Linked DNA regions of Homo sapiens: region 2 is linked to region 1. The links are contacts of gene promoters, found by promoter capture Hi-C in blood cells and fetal thymus (Javierre and others, 2016). All regions are on one chromosome and are shown on one strand. Each heading gives the region's core, a stretch centred on a gene start or on the middle of the fragment in contact. The rest is flanking DNA. Distances are from core to core; before and after follow the strand shown. Region 1 holds the start of TBCE (tubulin folding cofactor E). Region 2 overlaps ARID4B (AT-rich interaction domain 4B).

Region 1 (3,041 bases), core at 375-2,874:
TTTTGAACTCTTGAGCTCAAGTGATCTGCTTGCCTCGGCCTCCCAAAATGCTGGGATTATAGGTGTGAGCCACCGTGCCCTGCTGAGGAGAGTCTTAGTTTGGGATCCATGGATTCCTTTGAGGCCTATTCATGGGCTTCAAAGGATTAATCAGTCCTTGAAATCATACGCAAAATTTGTGTGTAGGTAGATAGCTTTTATCAGATTTCCAATGTGGTTTTTAATCCCCTCTTCCAAAGAAAAAACAATCACTGTAATATCTAGTTTCTAGTTTCAAGGAGTGAACTATCAAAGTATAAAACAGTAGAGACATCCAGCAGGATACTGACTGTTTGTGTCCATTTAATATGACAATTAGAAGGTCACTTCTTGGAAGAGTCATTTGGCTTTGCTCCCTCAATTTCCTTTCCACTTCACCTCACTTCAGTCTGGTTTTGGAATGCTAACACTCACTCTACCCAAACTGCTCTTGTTGTGGAGTCTGTGGTATCCACCAATGGGTTCTTTCTGCCTGCTGCACAAACAAAATTAATTGACAGAAACCATGGCATTGCAGTAAAGAAAGTTTAATTGACGCGAGGCTGGCCATGCCACGTGGGAGACAGAGTTGTTACTCAAATCCATCTCACCAAAGGCTCAGAGGTTAGGGGGTTTTTCAGATAGTTTGACAGGTACGGGGCCAGGGAATGGGGAGTGCTGACTGGTTGGGTCAGAGGTGAAATCATAAGAAGTAGAAGCTGTCCTCTTGCACTGAGTTGGTTCGTGGATCCCCAGGTTGATGAGTCAGGGTGGGGCCATCCACTTGTCAGAAATGCAAAAACCTGAAAAGACATCTCAAAAGGCCAATCTTAGGTTCTACAACAGTGATGTTATCTGCAGGAATGATTGGGGAAGATGCGAATTTGTGACCTGTGGAATAATGGGTGGTAATCATTTAACTACAATTACAACTTAGAAGAATTCAGGACCCTCTCATTCTCCTAACTTGGTGGCCTTTCATTTAGTTTTAAAAGGGCAGTTTTGGGGAAGGGTTATTATCATTTAAACTATAAACTAAATTTCTCCCAAAGTTAGTTTGTCCTGTGCCCAGGAATGAGCAAAGACAGCCAGTCTGTGAGGCTAGAATCAAGATAGGAGTAAACCATGTCAGATTTCTCTTACTGTCAAAATTTTGCAAAGGCGGTTTCAACAGAAATTAACATGTCTAGGATAGTTGCTTTTTCTATTATTTTTTCTATCACTGCATTTACTTTCATTCTGCCTTATGCTTTAACTAGGTAATTTTTTTTTTTTTTTTAGTTTTGGCGGTATCAACACTATATTCTTCTCTTTGACCACCGCATGCTGCCTACGTGGTAGACTCTCAATACGCATGGAACTGAACCTCTTACAGGATTTGTAACTCACTTCTGTGGTATCTAGTAAACTGGAACACGCGCTTTCCCTGGGCTGCTCTGTCATCCCAGGTTTCAGCACTCGGAAATCGCTTGGGCCCCCGCCCAGAGGCGGGGCTTGGGTGGGCTGACCACTCCTCTGGCCTCCAATACTGTCGCTGACATTCTCGTCTATGCTCCAGCAGCCGTACCTCACTCCGGTGGAGGCGGGACTTCCTACAGCACTTCCGGCCAGAGCCTCAAGCTTCGCTGCTGGGCAGTTGGCTGGAGGGGCTGCTGCTGGGAACACCTGGAGTCTCCGCGGGCAGGTGAGCTTCAGAGGTTCGGGGAGCTTTCGGAACGAGCATTCCTGGCCGGTGCGTCACCCTGCAGTGCTCTTGGCCTTTTCTTCCTTTCCTGGAATCTTCCCAGATTGCCAGAGCCGGGCGTTGCCTGCTCCGTGCGCTGGGAGGCGGTCCAGCCGGCTGGGTTGGGGCCACCCTGCGCCTCCTGGAAGGCCTTATTTAGGAGTAGCCGCACGTGATCTCTAGCATTTTAAGCTTCTCTCAGAGAATTGGCATGTCACTTTGGAAGAGGTGAAAATGGTACAGGCGACCAACGACTTTTACAAGGTGTCACCTTAGAGGAACAGCCTCGTCCTTCCGAATCAGTTAACATTGGTGATGACAGAGAAATAACGTTAAATAGGTGGAGAGCACTTAAAGTAACTGTTTGTTCTTTTGAGACAGTCTTGCTCTGTCGCCCAGGCTGGACTGCAGTGGCGCGGATCTCTGATCTCGGCTTACTGCAACCTCCGCCTCCTGGGTTCAAGCGATTCTGCTGCCTCAGCCTCCCGAGTAGCTGGGATTACAGGCGCGTGCCACCACGCTCGGCTAATTTTTGTATTTTTAGTAGAGACAGGGTTTCTCCATGTTGGCCAGGCTGCTCTCGAACTCCTGATCTCAGATGATCCACCCGCCTCGGCCTCCCAAACTGCTGGGATTACAGGCGTGAGCCACCGCGCCCGGCCTAAAGTAACTATTTTTACTTGGTGTTTACTACCAAATGGGGACTGTTCTAAGTTGTGGGTGGATCCAAATGATGGTGTGACAGCCTTATCCTCAGAGAAGCAGTCCTGGCAGGAAGACGGGGTTAACAAATTGCCAAACTGTTAGAGAAAGTTAGTGGAGGTAGAGATGAAGAGAGAAGACTTTTCTTTTCTCTGGCATTAATTTAGCCACGGCCGCTGTGTTTTGATACTTGCTTCAAACGTTTTTCATATTCTTAAGTTTTAACTTTTCTGTATGCTCATATTTTATATACTGTTGTAAACAGCATATCTCTGGGTTTTTTTTTTAATCTAAGTGGACAGCCTGCTTTTTTTTTTTTTTTTTTTTTTTGATATGGAGTCTTGCTCTGTCGCCCAAGGCTGGTGTGCAGTGGCCCAATCTCAGCTCACTGCAACCACGCCTCCCAGGTTCAAGCATATCTCCCACCTCAGCCTCCCGAGTAGTTGGGATGACAGGTGTGTGCCACCATGCCCAGCTAATTTTTTTTTTTTTGTATTTGTAGTAGAGATGGGGTTTCGCCATGTTGGCCAGACTGGTTTTGAAGGCCTGACTTCAGGTGATCCACCTGCTTCAGCCTCCCAAAGTGCTGGGGCTACAG
Region 2 (3,041 bases), core at 334-2,833, 110 kb before region 1:
TTCAACAAATGAAAACAGGTAGTGAAAACATATCAACAAATTTGTTAAAAATATATTAACTTTGAATCATAAAGAAATTACACATGTTAAAAAATATATCCCTATATCTACTGACAAAATCACTGAATGAAATACACTTTCTTTTTCCTTGTGTATGTGTTTTAATGGACATCACCTCCACAGAAACAAATTTTTAGGGCAGCCGAAAAAATTAAAAATAAGCTTTAGATATTCATTACTTATAAAGCACAAGGTACTCTGTGCTATCAATAGAGGCAGTAGAGTCCAGTAAGAGTTTTGTTCCTTTCATTTACAGCAAGAAATGGCAGGACTGCTACATGTCATTTTCCTAGTTCATTCATTACACAGGAAATGTGCAGCTAAGGATGCAAGATGGGGCTTAAATCCAGCCTTTGCTTTGTGGGCCAAAGCATGGGTCCTGGAGTGACACAGCTCCAGTCCAAAGAGAATGTCTTTTCCAACTGGCACAAACTTGCTATCTGCATGCCAAGCGCTGCTAAGAAGGCTTTCCACCAGGAGAGAGGGCTTTTGTCTACTTCACACAAAGGTGATACATGTGCTACCAGTAGTCCTGAAAAAGTACAAACATTGATAAAAGGCTTTCTCTTCCTCTACAGGATAGTACTGGCAAAAAACAGTGCTTGGGGAATACCAGTGTGTGAAGCCAGAACAGGAAATGCACACTATAAAAGCACCAACCACCAAGCATGTGGAAACTGAAGGTAGGGTGGGGCCAAGACTAGCCCCCTACCAGTTTGTAGTTAATTTAAAGGACTTATCACAATGGTTCCTAACCAGGAGTGTAAATTAGAATCACCCAGGTAGCTTTTTCAACACATCCATGCATAAGGAATATAGGAACAGTAAAAGCTCCAGAAGAGACTGATACCCTCCACAGAAGCACAACACCTCTACAGTCTATGTAATTGGTGAAATAAAAACCAATGGCTTAAAAGGTATCTGCTAATCTAGATTATAAATTCCTTGAGGACAGATCAGGTCAATCTCATCCTAATATCCCCATCCTCCTTCCCACCTAAAAGTTCCCTGCAAAAGGTTTGTCACTCAATAAATTATTGACAAATGAATAAATGTCTATATTCAAGTTCACTTGTCTGGTATTTTTCAGTGCTGATAATTTATTAAAATGGAAGCAATTACACTCCTTTTTCTATATTAAGACAAAACTCAAGTACTTTAGAAAGATGTTTCAAGAAAGGCAGAGCATAAGGAGTCAACAACTAGATGTACCTTATTTCACTGTTATCTAAGGCACCATCAATTACAAGTCACATTCTAATTTTATGGCTGAAATAGAGGGGGTGATGCCTTAAAATTGATGAACTATGGTAGTTCCAATTCTGCCATGAATTTGGCATAATGGCCTTGGAGAAATCACTAACCCTCTCCGAGCCTCATTTTTCTTGTAATAAAATGAAGCAATTAAACTAGATGACTTCTAACTTCCTTTCCAGCTCTAAAACACTATACAAACAATAAGACGTCTATAGTGAAATGGCATTCAAAATACCAACTGTGATAATCTAATTTCTTTCCAATTATAATACTTTTAAAATAACAAAAAATGCTTTGTTTTGAGGTATTTTTACAACCTTCACTCCTAGAAACTTATTTTGCAGAAAAATCTTAAATACACTCACCAAATAAAAGTTTACATATCAAATGCTGAACATACAATTTATGAAATCTATAAATACTGTACCTTGACTTTGACAAGTCTTTTTGCTGTCTTGATCTTGGCTTCACAAAAGGCTCCTCTGTATTTAGCACTCACATCAGTGCCCACTGTCAAATAGGGAGGCTCATCAAGGGCCTAAAAATGCAAAGAAATATAATTAGATTTAAACTCTCTAATTCTTTCCCATAATCAGACCTCAGAATAGTGAGCCTAATCTTGTTAAGCTACAACAGTTATAAATATGAAATGTATGTTAACAAGACCAATCTATAAAATACTATAAATTAAAAAACAAGTAAAATGTTTATCATAAAGACTATTTAAATGTACATCACATAAAATATAAAGGTATCTTATTTCCATTAAATACATATGGTCCATGATATGAATTAGCTCACTCACAAGTATACCCCTCTAGTCACTCATTCATTCAAATATTTATTTATTCTATGACCACTTACAAGAAAAGGGTCCGTTGGCCAGAAGGCAGATCTTTAAAGCTCAAATTCTGGGGTGGGGGGGAAATCTTCTAATATTTAGGCTGTATCTTGGCAGTCACCCAGATTCAGAATAGCTCTGTTATATCTCTATCTAGAAAAGTCTAAGGTAGTTTAGTGTAGTGCCTGGTGTGGTGGTTCCTGCCTATAATCCCAGAACTTTGGAAGGCCAAGGCTGGAGGATCACTTGAGCCCAGGAGTTTGAGACCACCCCAAGCAACATAGGGAAAACTCAACTCTACAAAATAAAAAAATAAAAACTGGCTGGCTATGGTGCCATGCGCCTGTACTCCTAGCTACTTGGGAGACTGAAGTGGGAGGAGTGCTTGAGCCCAAGAGGTCGAGACTCGAGTGAAAAGTGATCGTGCCACTGAACTCTAGCCTGGGCCACAGAGTAAGACCCTGTCTCAAAAAAGCAAACAAAAAAGAATGTAGTATAGCATACAAGGGAGAAAAGTTAGTATATTTAAACTACTAGTGAAAACTATATGAAGAAAGTCATCTGGAAAGTCTCAAAACTTTGAAGCCAAAATATCTTAAATGCTTTAATAGGAGGGATTCGCTGGATATTTACTCTTCTACCTTAACTAATATTTATGTTTCCTCAGTTGTGATTTAGTTTTTAATAGCTGCTCTTACGTTTTACATTCAGGTACATTTCTACATTTTTATTTCTAAGGAGTTCTTCTGCTTATAGTAATTCCATAGCCAAAGGAAAATCATGGAAGTAAGCTTTTTCCAAAGTGCTTTATAAAAAGTACTAACATCCCAGGACGTTCCACCAAAAGGAAAGGAGGCAGGAGTTGGGGGAAATTCACTATATT

What was found. Contacts are between HindIII fragments. The CHiCAGO score rates a contact against its expected background, and 5 or more counts as called.
Region 2: a contact is called between a fragment that was not itself captured here and the fragment with the promoter of TBCE in region 1, in 2 of 17 cell types (non-activated CD4 T cells and total CD8 T cells). The highest score is 5.8, in non-activated CD4 T cells.

What each region holds. Positions count from the first base shown.
Region 1 is chr1:235,365,803-235,368,843 of GRCh38, forward strand. It overlaps TBCE (tubulin folding cofactor E), which reads left to right and starts at 1,625. Exons shown (of 17, transcript NM_003193.5): 1 at 1,625-1,702. It overlaps LOC124904559 (a long non-coding RNA gene), which reads right to left and starts at 1,618. Exons shown (of 2, transcript XR_007066957.1): 1 at 1,408-1,618; 2 at 551-821. RefSeq lists enhancers at 1,332-2,045, 1,585-1,924. The HindIII fragment of the contact is 3,498 bases long and covers 1-1,636 here.
Region 2 is chr1:235,258,898-235,261,938 of GRCh38, forward strand. ARID4B (AT-rich interaction domain 4B) reads right to left here. Exons shown (of 24, transcript NM_016374.6): 3 at 1,745-1,855. Among named protein-coding and RNA genes, the nearest start is that of ARID4B, 68 kb to the right of the region's middle. The HindIII fragment of the contact is 2,727 bases long and covers 221-2,947 here.